Linked DNA regions of Homo sapiens: region 2 is linked to region 1. The links are contacts of gene promoters, found by promoter capture Hi-C in human tissues and cell types (Jung and others, 2019). All regions are on one chromosome and are shown on one strand. The core of a region is centred on a gene start or on the middle of the fragment in contact, and the rest is flanking DNA. Distances in the headings are between cores, read along the strand shown. Region 1 holds the start of CBR3 (carbonyl reductase 3). Region 2 overlaps MORC3 (MORC family CW-type zinc finger 3).

What was found. The method cuts DNA at HindIII sites, captures the fragments that hold promoters and counts their contacts. A contact is called where the count stands out against the background at its distance.
Region 2: a contact is called between a fragment that was not itself captured here and the fragment with the promoter of CBR3 in region 1, in 3 of the 25 tissues and cell types used here (IMR-90 fibroblasts, lymphoblastoid cells and mesendoderm cells).

The regions. Positions count from the first base shown.
Region 1 is chr21:36,130,160-36,136,328 of GRCh38, reverse strand. It overlaps CBR3 (carbonyl reductase 3), which reads right to left and starts at 1,250. Exons shown (of 3, transcript NM_001236.4): 1 at 848-1,250. The coding sequence starts at 1,136. It overlaps CBR3-AS1 (CBR3 antisense RNA 1), which reads left to right. Exons shown (of 3, transcript NR_038893.1): 3 at 3,255-4,562. It also overlaps the pseudogene MEMO1P1 and the pseudogene RPS9P1. RefSeq lists enhancers at 276-445, 281-1,087, 1,088-1,895 and silencers at 596-765, 1,196-1,265. The HindIII fragment of the contact is 7,591 bases long and covers 1-4,043 here.
Region 2 is chr21:36,362,908-36,369,076 of GRCh38, reverse strand. It overlaps MORC3 (MORC family CW-type zinc finger 3), which reads right to left. Exons shown (of 17, transcript NM_015358.3): 14 at 4,818-4,984; 15 at 1-89. Among named protein-coding and RNA genes, the nearest start is that of CHAF1B, 19 kb to the left of the region's middle. RefSeq lists a silencer at 4,124-4,300. The HindIII fragment of the contact is 3,820 bases long and covers 476-4,295 here.

The DNA.
Region 1 (6,169 bases), core at 1-2,500:
AGTAACTTTTTTTTTTTTTTCATACGGAGTCTCGCTCTGTCTCCCAGTCTGGAGTGCAGTGGCGCGATCTCGGCTCACTGCCTCCCAGGTTCAAGCGTTTCTCCTGCCTCGGCCTCCCAAAGTGCTGGCATTACAGGCGTGAGCCACTGCGCCCTCCTGTAATTTTCTTCAGTAGTAGTTAGAATAAGCAATCTCTTGATCCCCGCCCCTCTCCTTAAGGAAGATGCTTTTAAGACCACACGCACGTATTTTATAACAAACATAAGCTCCCCGGGCGGGGGTGGGGGAACGAGAAGGCTCGCTTCCTTTTTGCCAGAGCCTATCAAAGCTCTGCATTACACAAATTGTCAAGTCCACCAAGGGCAAGCGCGCGCTAATCCTGTTTTAGCGATTCATTTCCTTTCCCGAGCAAATGCCTCCGGGCATCTATGAATGCGCCCTTTCAAGGAAAGCGAAAGCCCAAAGCGAGCGGAGACCGTTTCTTTGCAGAGAAAATGTTTCTCGCGTTGGAAGGAAAGCTGATGAACTCTAGCAGGGCGTTGCCCCCTCCCAGGAGGCCAGTTTTCCTGCACACAACAGCGGCTGACAGTTCGGGGAGGGCCCCGGGCCGCGCACAGGCCCTCACAGGCCGGCGGGCGGGGCGCGCTGTTTGTCGCCCGGGCCCGCCTGGGGCTCAGCGAATCACGGAAAGCGAAAACCGCCTCGCGGGAGGCGTGGGCTGAGCGCATCCCTAGGGGTCGGCGCCACCCTCCTCGGTCACTCAAGTGGACGGGTGGGGAGCCTGCGGCTGGCCACCTCCGCACCCTCGGAGCGCTCCAGGGGGCCCCAACCCAAGCCCTGCACCTACTCTTGAAGGCGACGGCCGCGTTGTTGACCAGTACGTTGAGCCCCCCGTACTCCTTGCGCAGGAAGTCGCGCAGGGCGCGGATGCTCTGCAAGTCGTCGATGTCCAGTTGGTGGAAGCGCGGGCTCAGGCCCTCCGCCTGCAGCTGCTGCACGGCCGCCTGGCCCCGCGCCACGTCCCGCGCGGTGAGCACCACATCCCCAGAGAACTGTCGGCACAGTTCGCGCGCGATGGCCAAGCCGATGCCCCTGTTGGCCCCGGTCACCAGCGCCACGCGGCTGCAGGACGACATGGCTGAGCGGGGAGCGCGGGGCACCTGCGTGGAGGGCGGACCGGGCTTCGGACCACCTGGGGCGCGCCCCGAGGAGCCCAGCTAGTGTCAATGCCGCCGCGCAGACTAAGTTCTGGGATCCAGTGCTGCGAGTCTTAAAGAAAAAGGCCCCGGCTCCGGTCCCTCCCCTCCGAGGAGGGGCCGTCTGTGCCCTCTGTTCCAACTCCCGGGCCCGCCCCCTGCCCACGCTGCGCCCTTCAGGATCCGGGCTCTGAGCCGCGGGGTGATCTGCGAGGTGTCCGAAGCCAAATCGGACCTTGATGGGTCAGTCGGGGGCTCCAGATTCTTGGCAACTGGACTGAAGAAATTATTTTGGGAAAACCCCAAAGTGAGAAAAACAAGTGCTGAGTAATTTTCTTGGGTGTGCGCCCATCATGCACTGCAAAATGCGAATGTTTGCTTTTTCCTAAGATGCAGTGACTTACTTAGACACAGTAACTGCTTCTCTGGACATAGGTTGCCTTGCTTGCTTAAAAGGAACTCAAGAGAGGGAACTAGATGCCCTGTGAGCGCACTTAGCAGGTGTGGGCAGGCGACATCGCTCTGGGATTCCCAGTGAATGTGCCCCCAAGTGGGAGGGAATGTTTTTATTTAATCCTACCTAACTCCTACGGGTGCTAAAAGTGTCTGCATTTAGGTTTGTCCAGGGAGGATATAGATCTATAAAGATCTGGATTGATCATATGTTCTCACAGATCTGTGTACCGGCAAAGAAAGTTAAACCAAATTCCCAAAGGTGTGTCAAGCTGTGGGCACAAAATTAGAGTCTCATCCATCGTCTTCAGTGTAAACTGAGTTGTTTGATCAGTGACTTTGAGATTTGGGGAGAACCATGACATCATCACGACTCAGCCTTTTCCATGCAGAGCTGGCTAACCCGCCTGTGTCTCTGTTACTCTGACTCTACCTTCTCTCTCAAGTCCTTACTTGAGGTTCCGGAGGTGGGCCCCTGCTGTGATCTCCTACTGTGCCTCCCCCAGTATTTCCTTCTTTTTTCTCCTAAAGATCATTTGGTCCGGGCGCGGTGGCTCACACCTGTAATCCCAGCACTTTGGGAGGCTGAGGCGGGTGGATTACGCGGTCAGGAGTTCAAGACCAGCCTGACCAACATGGTGAAACCCCCATCTCTACTAAAAATACAAAAATTACCTGGGTGTGGTGGCACGTGCCTGTAATCCCAGCTACTTAGGAGGCTGAGGCAGGAGAACTGCTTGAACCCGGGAGGCGGAGGTTGCAGTAAACCGAGATTGCACCACTGCACTCCAACCTGTGCAACAGAGTGAGACTTTTCAAAAAAAAAAAAAAAGATCATTTGGAACCTTGTTTTAAGGATATGGGGCTATTTAGGCTTTCTATTTCTGTTTTTTTTTTTTTTTTTTTTTTTTTTAATAGGGTCTTCTCTGTCGCCCAGGCTGGAGTGCAGTGCTGCAGTCGTGGCTCACTGTAGCGTCAGTCTCCTGAGCTCAGGTGATCCTCCCCTTTAGCCTCCCTAGTAGCTGGGACTACAAGTGTGCCACAGTCATGCCTGGATAATTTTTTTTTTTTTTTTTTTTTTGAGACGGAGTTTTGCTCTGTCACCCAGGCTGGAGTGCAGTGGCACGATCTTGGCTCACTGCAACCTCCGAATCCTGGGTTCCAACGATTCTCCTGCCTCAGGCTCCTGAGTAGCTGGGATTACAGGCGCTGCCACTACACCCAGCTAATTTTTGTATTTTTAGTAGATACAGGGTTTCACCATGTTGGCCAGGCTGGTCTCGAACTCCTGACCTCGTGATCCACCCGCCTTGGCCTCCCAAAGTGCTGGGATTACAGGCGTGAGCCACCACACCCGGCCTGCCTGGATAATTTTTTATTTTATTTTATTTTTATTTGTTTTTAGAGATGGGAGTCTCACTGTGTTGCTCAGACTGGTTGAACTCCTGGGCTACATCGATTCTCCCTCCTTGGCCTCTCAAAGTGCTGGTATTACAGGCTTGTGTCACCGTGCCTGGCCTAGTTCTTCTTGAGTGACCTTAATTTCTGTTTTTCATAATTTTATTTTTTTAAATAAAGCATTGATCCTGTTTTATCATTTGGCAGGAAAACTAGACAATCCACCAGCCCAGGAGGGGACAAGCAGGCTTATTCCTCCTCCTCGTCATCTCTGGCTCCAGCCCCACCCTGGCCCTTGCTGGCATTCTTCCTCTTCACGTGGCTGGGGTTGGCCACCCCAATAGGGAAGCAGAGGGAGAAGTCAATGTGCTTCTGGGAATCCAGGCGGACAGTGAAGAACAGGATATTTACCACCTGCTCACGGACACGGATATGACACTGTTGAATCAGCACATGAGCGTGGCGGATGGACTTAGCCAAGCCAAGCTTGAAGACCTGGGTCTGTAGGAATCTCTAAGAAATCATTGATCTTCAGGCCCAGGATGTAATCCAGCTTCATCTTGCCCTCATCCAGCACCCCAGTGCGGACCAGCCACTGCAGCAGGGCAATGCCTTCGAACAGACGCCGTGGGTCCTTCTCATCAAGCGTCAGCAGCTCCCGGGCGGCCTTATGGATCTTGACCAGGGTAAATTTGACCCTCCAGACCTCACATTTGTTCTGGAGCCCATACTCACCAATCAGCTTTAGCTTTTGGTCGAGATGAGGTTTCTCGAAGGGTCTCTGCAGGGTCACATAAGTTTGGCAACAAACCCAGCTCTGGGCCGCTGGCATGTTGGCTCCACTTGCCCGTCTATGCCTAAGCACAGGCCCTGGTCACTGAGAAAGAGCTCAAATTTTTTATATATTTCATCTAAGGTGTTGATTCTATTGATACCCTTATCCTTTTAACATGCCCTTATCCTTTTAATGTTGGTAATGATGCTACCTGTCATTTCTGAGACTGGTTTGTGTCTTTCGTGTTTTTTTCTGATCTGTCTGGCTAGAGGTTTACCAATTGATTTGATTTTCCTCAAACTTCTGGTTACAATGATTCTCTCTCTCTCTCTTTTCCTGATTATATTAATTTCTGTTCTGATCTTTGTTTCCTTTCTTCTGCTTACTGGATTTTATTTGCTCTTTTTCTGGTTTCTTACTGTAAAGGCAGAAGTCATTGATTTGCATTGATTTGAGACTTCTTTTCTAATGTAGGCAGTAAGTGGTGTAAATTCCCTTTTAGTATGACTTTAGTGGCATCTCACATTGATATGTTTTCAATTTCATTCAGTTTATTTTTATTTATTTTTTAAATTATTTATTTATTTATTTATTTTGAGTTGTGTAGCCCTTTATTAGCAACTAAAATAGAAGGTATCTGTTGTACAACATGGGTAGTAATTGACTATAACTGGAGATTTATTATATTCTAATACAGATCATTTATAAATGCAATTTCTTTATTAAAAAGCTTCCACCTTTTTGTTTGTTTGTGTACAATTTGCAAAACTATTCTGAAAGCGGAATATATGTGCACAAGTCTGCAAAGAGTGCAAATTTAGGATATGGTAAATGCTTTACAAGTTACTTTCAAAAAACTGTCTGCCATAACTGAGCCTTTACATTGTCATCTTTTTTGATCAAAATATTTTGATGCCAGCCTTCCTTCCACTGCCCTAAACTATAAAGCATTTTTTAATGAGTTGAAATTAAGGAAGGACTACACCTACTAGAAAAAAAGAGAAGAAAGTTCTATTAGTTTGAGGTTTCAGAATCCCCCCAAACCAGGACCAGTATCGTGGTAAAGGCTAGGCTGGGAGCCCGGACAGAGTATGAGAATGTGCAGGTGGCATCCCTGAGGATTCAGAGCTTCAGTGGACCGTGAGTGCTCCAGCTGCATAACTCACTGAACTGTCTTGCCAGTTTCTACACTGGCTCGACTGGGCATAATTCAAAAACGAAAAACTCATATTCATTCCATTCTTCTGGAGCTCTGTGATAGCATTTAATAACACCCCAATGGGATGTCTTCCACATATAGTATTATGGTATTTCTTCAAGTAATTGCTAAAAGATACAGGGTCTAATTGTTCTATAATACTCATACCCATTTTATCTAGATGTTCAATGGATCTACAAATCTCCCCCTGGGATTCATCATAGTAACTGTGACGGAACCTTTGACCCCAATGGCAGAAATCAGAAGAAACCACAAAGAGATTACTAGGATCCGCTAGATATTTACTGAAAAGTTCCGAATTCCTGTTCTTTTGACTCAGAGCTCCAACCAGTAAAGGAATAATGGTAAACTCATCCTTATGGCTTTCCATGGCTTTAGCTGTATAAGGCAAATGCATTTCAATACTGCGTTCATCTTCATCTGTCTGCAGAGACATGCGTTCAAACATTCCTGTCTTCCATAGTTCTCCGTAAATCTTTTGGTCAATACGAAGGTCATACAGGGGTGTCCTATATATATCCACACTGGAAAGTGCACATCGAGAGAGGGGCACATGATGAGAAGGCCCAAGGATGAAAATTCTCCGGGTAATAGACGGATCCACTTGTTTATAAGCATGGGCAGCACAAGACCCACAGTACGTATATCCTGCATGGGGGGCAATAATGGCTCTAGCAGGTCTTTTTGTAGACTGTACTTGTGAAAGCCAACCTTCTAGCTGTGCATTCAGCTGCGGTCCTGAGGCTGTGTACCAGCTCCCGGCGTGACTGGCTTCTCGGCAGACCACTCGGTTGGACATCTTGGTGCCTGTGCCGCCTATGGTGCACGAGGATGAATGAGGAGGCGGCGGCGGCGGCGGCAGGAGCGGCTCCGCGAGGGGACGAGACACCGCGGGCCCAGCCCAGGAGGAGGCGGCAGCGGGGAGGGGATCAGCCCGGCCCAGGAGGAGGAGGAAGAGGAGGAGGCGGCGGCCCAGGAGGAGGAGATGGCAGCCGGGGGGGTGGCGGCGGCAGCAACAATCACCACAAACTCCGGCGACCGCCGGAAGATGGGGCCCACGGCGGCCTCACCTAAGCCCGGAAAGCCCTGGCCCCGGCCCCCGGCGTCCCCGCTGCTGCCCAGCCGGGG
Region 2 (6,169 bases), core at 1,136-3,635, 230 kb before region 1:
CTTTATAAACTGAATTTTCAAACTGACTACTCAATCTCCGATTCTTTGCATTCAAAATTGAGGAACGAGTAGAAAGTCTCCGTTTCAAGCTGAAAAAAATTTTATACATAAAACATAAGATTATAAAATATGGACAAAATAGATGACCTTGAAGTAATCATTCTAACAAATGCAGTATTGTAACAGTTTTTTTGTTTTTTGAGATGGAGTGTCACTCTGTCGCCCAGGCTAGAGTGCAATGGCACAGTCTTGGCTCACTGCAACCTCTGCCTCCCAGGTTCAAGTGATTCTCCTGCCTCAGCCTCCTGAGGAGCTGGGATTACAGGCACCCGCCACCACGTCCAGCTAATTTTTATATTTTTAGTACAGATGGGGTTTCCCCATGTTGCCCAGGCTGGTCTCAAACTCCTTGAGCTCAAGCAATCTGCCTGCCACAGCCTCCCAAAGTGCTGGGATTAGACACATGAGCCACTGTGCCCAGCTATAAGTTTTGCAATACTAAGAAATACCCAGGCTCATTTTTTAAAGTGACGCATTGTATAGTACCAATCACTGATTTAATGAAGTAGAGATTATTTTCTCTTTTTACAGATGAAGACGATGGACTATTGAGATCTCTTTGAAGTACCAGATCTATTTACTGCCAAACATCTCTGCATTTGATCACCTCCAGGCATTTCAATGTACACATTTCCAGAACAGAATGCTACCCACCCCGGCCCCTTCTTTGTATTCTTCAGCTCAGGGAATGGCACCACCATTTTCATTTGCCCATAATAATTTTTATCAGTAATCAGTGATCAAAGATAAGCCATAAAGCAAACCAGTATTTATCCTTTCATATGAAATAATTTTATCTGAATTAAAATTGCCCCAATTTCTTCATTTGCATCATTCCCTGTTCATTCATGTTAATATGTGCATAGTTCACATTTATTTATCACCATTTGATTGCCTTTTTCCACACTTGGAGGAATATTTGTACTGGTTTGCTATTTGGGCCTTGTGTTAGACCTCCTAGATCTCAGGAAGGATTTTCCTCTTTTTTGGACTGTCTCATATTGGGCGAGCACAGCCTGCAACAGCATCTTAATGAAGGGTACACAGAACATAACAAACGCAAAGTTTTGCATGATGAAAACATCTTTATTTCTCTCTCAAGTCTATTGCTAGCTTAACTGTTATATAGGCTTCCGGGTTGAAAAATTATTTTCTCAGAAATTTAAAAGCATCATTCCATTTTCATCTGCCATTCAAGTGTTTCTGCCATTCTAATTCCTCATCTCTTGCCCGTACATAATCTGTTTCTTTCTGAAAAAATCTTTTATTCCCTGCGTTAAAAAAATGTCATGATCCTATGTCTTTGAGTGGCTCTCCTTCCAGACATTATGCTCTGTAGTTAGTGGAAATGCAGTTTTTCTGGTATGATTTCCCATTCTGGAAGGCAGCTATGTTTGCTACACCATACCAGTGCCTACGTCCCATTCTGAAACTCCCTTATTCAGATGGTGGCTTTCCAGCACAGATACTGTATCTTTTCTTCTTTCTCTATCTTCCGACTGTTAAGCTTTTCATTCTAAATGATTTATTTATTCAAGTTTACATCACTTTCCCCCAATAAATTTCACAATGTTTTCTTCTATTCCCTTTGTTTCAGTCTGCTGTCCCATGTGGGAGATGACACATGTGGCTATCCAGGGCGATCTGCGTATACCTAAGAGTGAAACTGACTAGCAGTAGTTAGGGCTGAGCTTGTGATTCAAAGGGTGCTCAAACTGCCATCATCATTTAGGGCTTCTCTCTTGGAGCCCAGTGAGGAGGGAAGGGTGGATTTCTGACCATTCAGTATCCAAACTTTCCCTTACTCATTCTGTTTCAAAACAATGGCTCATGTACATCTTCAGCAGTAAAAACTGCTCCATAAAGTAAATTCCCTATCTTCTGACAGAGGCAGAGAAAGGGCACTCACCAGACTTTGCAGGTTGGAAAGAGGTCTCGACTTTAAGTTTCCAACCAAGCCTCTGGTTCTCACCCCTATCTATCTTCCACCTTCAGCAGTCCCCAATGCTTCCAAGTTAGGAGACTTTCTAGGGACCTGTGGCGTAAACTGGTTTCTACCATCCTCCAGCAGCTTAGGTTTCAGCTTCCCTTGGTTTGCTGTATCAAGTACTTCTTGCTTACTCTGCCCTGTTTAATTTGGAGTTACTCTATTCTTTTTCTTACCAAGCTCATTCCTATTTATATTTCCTAAGACTTAGATACACCCTTTCCACAAACTTTGGTTTATAAATTTGAGAATACGGCTTTAAAAACTGTTTAATAGGCCGGGCAAAGTGGCTCACGCCTGTAATCCCAGCACTTTGGGAGGCCGAGGCAGGCAGATTGCCTGAGCTTAGGAGTTTGAGACCAGCCTGGGCAATATGGTGAACCCCCATCTATACTACAACACAATAAATTAGCAGGGCATGGCGGTGTACATTTGTAATCTCAGCTACTCAGGAGGCTGAGGCAGGGGAGTTGTTTGAACCAGGAGGCAGAGGTTGCAGTAAACAGATTATGCCACTGCACTCCAGGCTGGGTGACAGAGAAAGACTCTGTTTCAAAAAAAAAAAAAGTTGTTTAATCAAAAATTTCCCTCTTTATTCTTGTCTTCCATTTTGATGACGGCCAACTTTTAAAAAATTTTCTTTGCAGCCATAAAAAAGAAAGAAATAATGTCCTTTGCAACAACATGAATGCAGCTGGAGGCCTTTATCCTAAGGGAATTAAGGCAGGAACAGAAAACCAAATACTTCATGTTCTCACTTATAAGTGGGAGTAAGTGCTAGGTACACATGGACATAAAGATGGGAACTATAGACACTGGGGACCACTACAGTGGGGAGAGAGGAAGGGAGGTGGGCAGGGCTGAAAAACTACATATTGGGTACTATGCTCAATAGCTGGGCGATGGTATCATTCATACCCCAAACCTCAGGATCACGCCATATACCCATGTAACAAACCTGCATGTACCCTGAATCTAAAAGTTAAAATCATTAAAAATACCTTTAATCTCTTATCTATAAACTACAAAACCATCCTTACAAAGAAAAGCCAAAAATGTTAAGGAGAACTGTAAAATATGAGTTCTTAATAAAGTAGCAATCCAGCTCCAAAATGAGTGTCCAATACACAGGTTATAAAGAGCAAACTGGCCGGGTGCTGTGGCTCACACCTGTAATCCCATTACTTTGGGAGGCCGAGGCGGGCGGATCACCTGAGGTCAGGAGTTCGAGACTATCCTGGCTAACACAGTGAAAACCTGTCTCTACTAAAAATACAAAAAATTAGCCAGGCATGGTGGTGCGTGCCTGTAACCCCAGCTACTCGGGACGCTGAGGTGGGGGAATCGCATGAACCAGGAGTCGGAGGTTGCATTGAGTTGAGATTGCACCATTGCACTCCAGCTTGGGCAACAAAAGCCAAACTCCGACTCAAAAAAATAAAGAAAGGAAGAGCAAACTATTCTAGAATATGCCCTCTTTGATTTATATATGCATAAAGGCAGTTAGTTATTTATAATCTTCCTTGGGGTCAAAAATTCCTTTGAGAATTTGATAAAAGTTACAAAACATCTCAAAAAAAATCTGGCCCCACTATCTTAGAGAAGCTTGTTTCAATGTTCCTCTTCGAATAACAAACATCAGTATAGTCAGTGTGATCCACTCGTTTGTAGACATCACATTCATTCTTCTTCACTTGTCTTCATTCTATTAAATTGGAAGAGGCCATCTACAAGACTACTGTTTTCAGAACTTCAGGAACCAACGTAAGTACCACCTCATCACAAAGCCTTCGCTGATCAATCCAGTCAAGATGGCTAACTATTCAATTCATGCATCACTTTCTCTTTGTCCCTTCCTTCTCCATCCACTCCTCCAATAAATTAAGTGCCTACAGTGTGCCATAGGCTTTGCAAAGAACTTCTGGGTCACTATAGTGTCGTACTGTTAATTGCTTCATGTTTTTTTTTTTTTTTTTTTGAGATGGAGTCTCGCTCTGTCACCCAGGCTGGAGTGCAGTGGCGTGATCTCGGCTCACTGCAACCTCCGCCTCCCAGGTTCAAGCGATTCTCTTGCCTCAGCCTCCCAAGTAGCTGGGATTACAGGCATGTAACGCCACACCCACCTAATTTTTATATTTTTAGTAGAGACGGGGTTTCACCATGTTGGCCAGGCTGGTCTCGAACTCCTGACCTCAAATGATCCACCCACCTCGGCCTCCCAAAGTGCTGGGATTACAGGCGTGAACCACCGCGCCCGGGCTGCTTCACATTTTTTTAAGTCCTGATCATCTTAAAAGCAGGAATTGTCATACTATATAGAAATTCAAACAGGTGAGAATGCGATCAAACTCTACAATGAATACAATTAATGCTTTTTTTTTTTGAGACGGAGTTTTGCTCTTGTTGCCCAGGCTGGGGTGCAGCCTCAGCCTCAGCCTCAGCCTCCGCCTCTGGAGTAGCTGGGATTACAGGTGCCCGCCACCACGCCTGGTTAATTTTTTTGTATTTGTAGTAGAGATGGGGTTTTGCCATGTTGGCCAGGCTGGTCAATTAATACTTTTTAACGAATTTAACAGGTGGCAGAAGTAGGGTTTAGCCTAAGTTTAGACAATAAAAGCAAGACAATTTGTCCTGAAGATTTTCACATTCATGGAACCTACAATTCACAATGGAACCTACAATGATCCCGAATTGCATCACTGTCACAGAAGTGTCAAGTAAAAGCTCTGTTTAATATTCCCCAAATGGAAAACCAATCTTAGCCACTGACCTGTTGCTCTCAGGTTCAGACTGAGGTGGAACTTGATGATTATTTAGAAGTCTTGTCGCATAAGAATTTGTTCCTTCTGAAAGATGTCTTCTTGGAACACTTTCCTTAGGAGAAGAAAAGCTTGGAGTTGAAAGAGCAGTTGGCCGAAACAACAGTTCAGCATTAATCTGTTGGAGGGAAAAATCATCACCTTAAAGGAACTATTTCTAGTGTGACATGCCCAAAACACAAGATATAATCTTCCTCTTCCCCCTTATCCCAGAAGACACAAAAACAATTCCAAACATGTAAATTCCTTGTGCTATACCAGGAATCAACAAGTAAACCAATGAACTAAATCCAGCCTGCAAGTAGGCTAAGAATGGCTTTGTATTTTTAAAAGGTGTGAAGAAACAAAGCAACAAAACAAAGAATATGCAACAGAGACTTTATGTGGCCCACAAAGCCAAAAAGATTTACCATGTGGTGACCTCTTTGCTACTAGACTTATCAAGACCCAAACTTCTCAAGCAAGAAGCACAACTGCCTACTTGCATTCAGATGGCCCCTGATTTACAATGGCATCAACTTTATGATGGTGCAAAAGCAATACCCATTCAGCAGAAACTGTACTTCGAGTACTCAAGCAATCATTTTTGTTTTGTTTTTCACTTTCAGTATTCAATAAAGTTCATGAGATACTCAACACTTTATGATAAAACAGACTGTCAGATGACTGCCCAATGTAGGCTAATATAAGAGTTCTGAGCACAATTAAGGTAGGCTAGGCGAAGCTATGATATTCAATAGGTTAAGTGTATTAAATGCATTTTTGATAACAATATTTTGTTTGTTTTTTGTTTTTTTGAGACAGAGTCTCAGTCTGTTCCCCAGGATGGAGTGCAGTGGTGTGATCTTGGCTCACTGCAACCTCCATCTCCCAGGTTTAAGCAATTCTTGTGCCTCAGCCTCCTGAGTAGCTGGAATTACAAGTGCCTGCCACCACATTATTTTTTATATTTTTAGTAGAGACAGGGTTTTGCCATATTGCCCAGGCTGGTCTCGAACTCCTGGCCTCAAGTGATCGCCCACCTCACCTTCCCAAAGTTCTGGGAACACAGGCATGAGCCACCACGGCTAAAAACATTTTCAACTTATAATGGGCTTATCAGGATGTAACTCTACGGTAAGCCTAGGAGAATCTATACTCAACCAAAGCTCTTTAACACAGTAAGTATTAAGACAGAAGAGAGAGGCCAGGCAGAGTAGTCAACACTGGGAAAAACACTATGGCTTTTGTCCCGGTTAGCACTAAAATATGGCTTCCTGGGTGTTCCTGGGATGTCTTCCTTAACTGCTTATCTAACAGTACA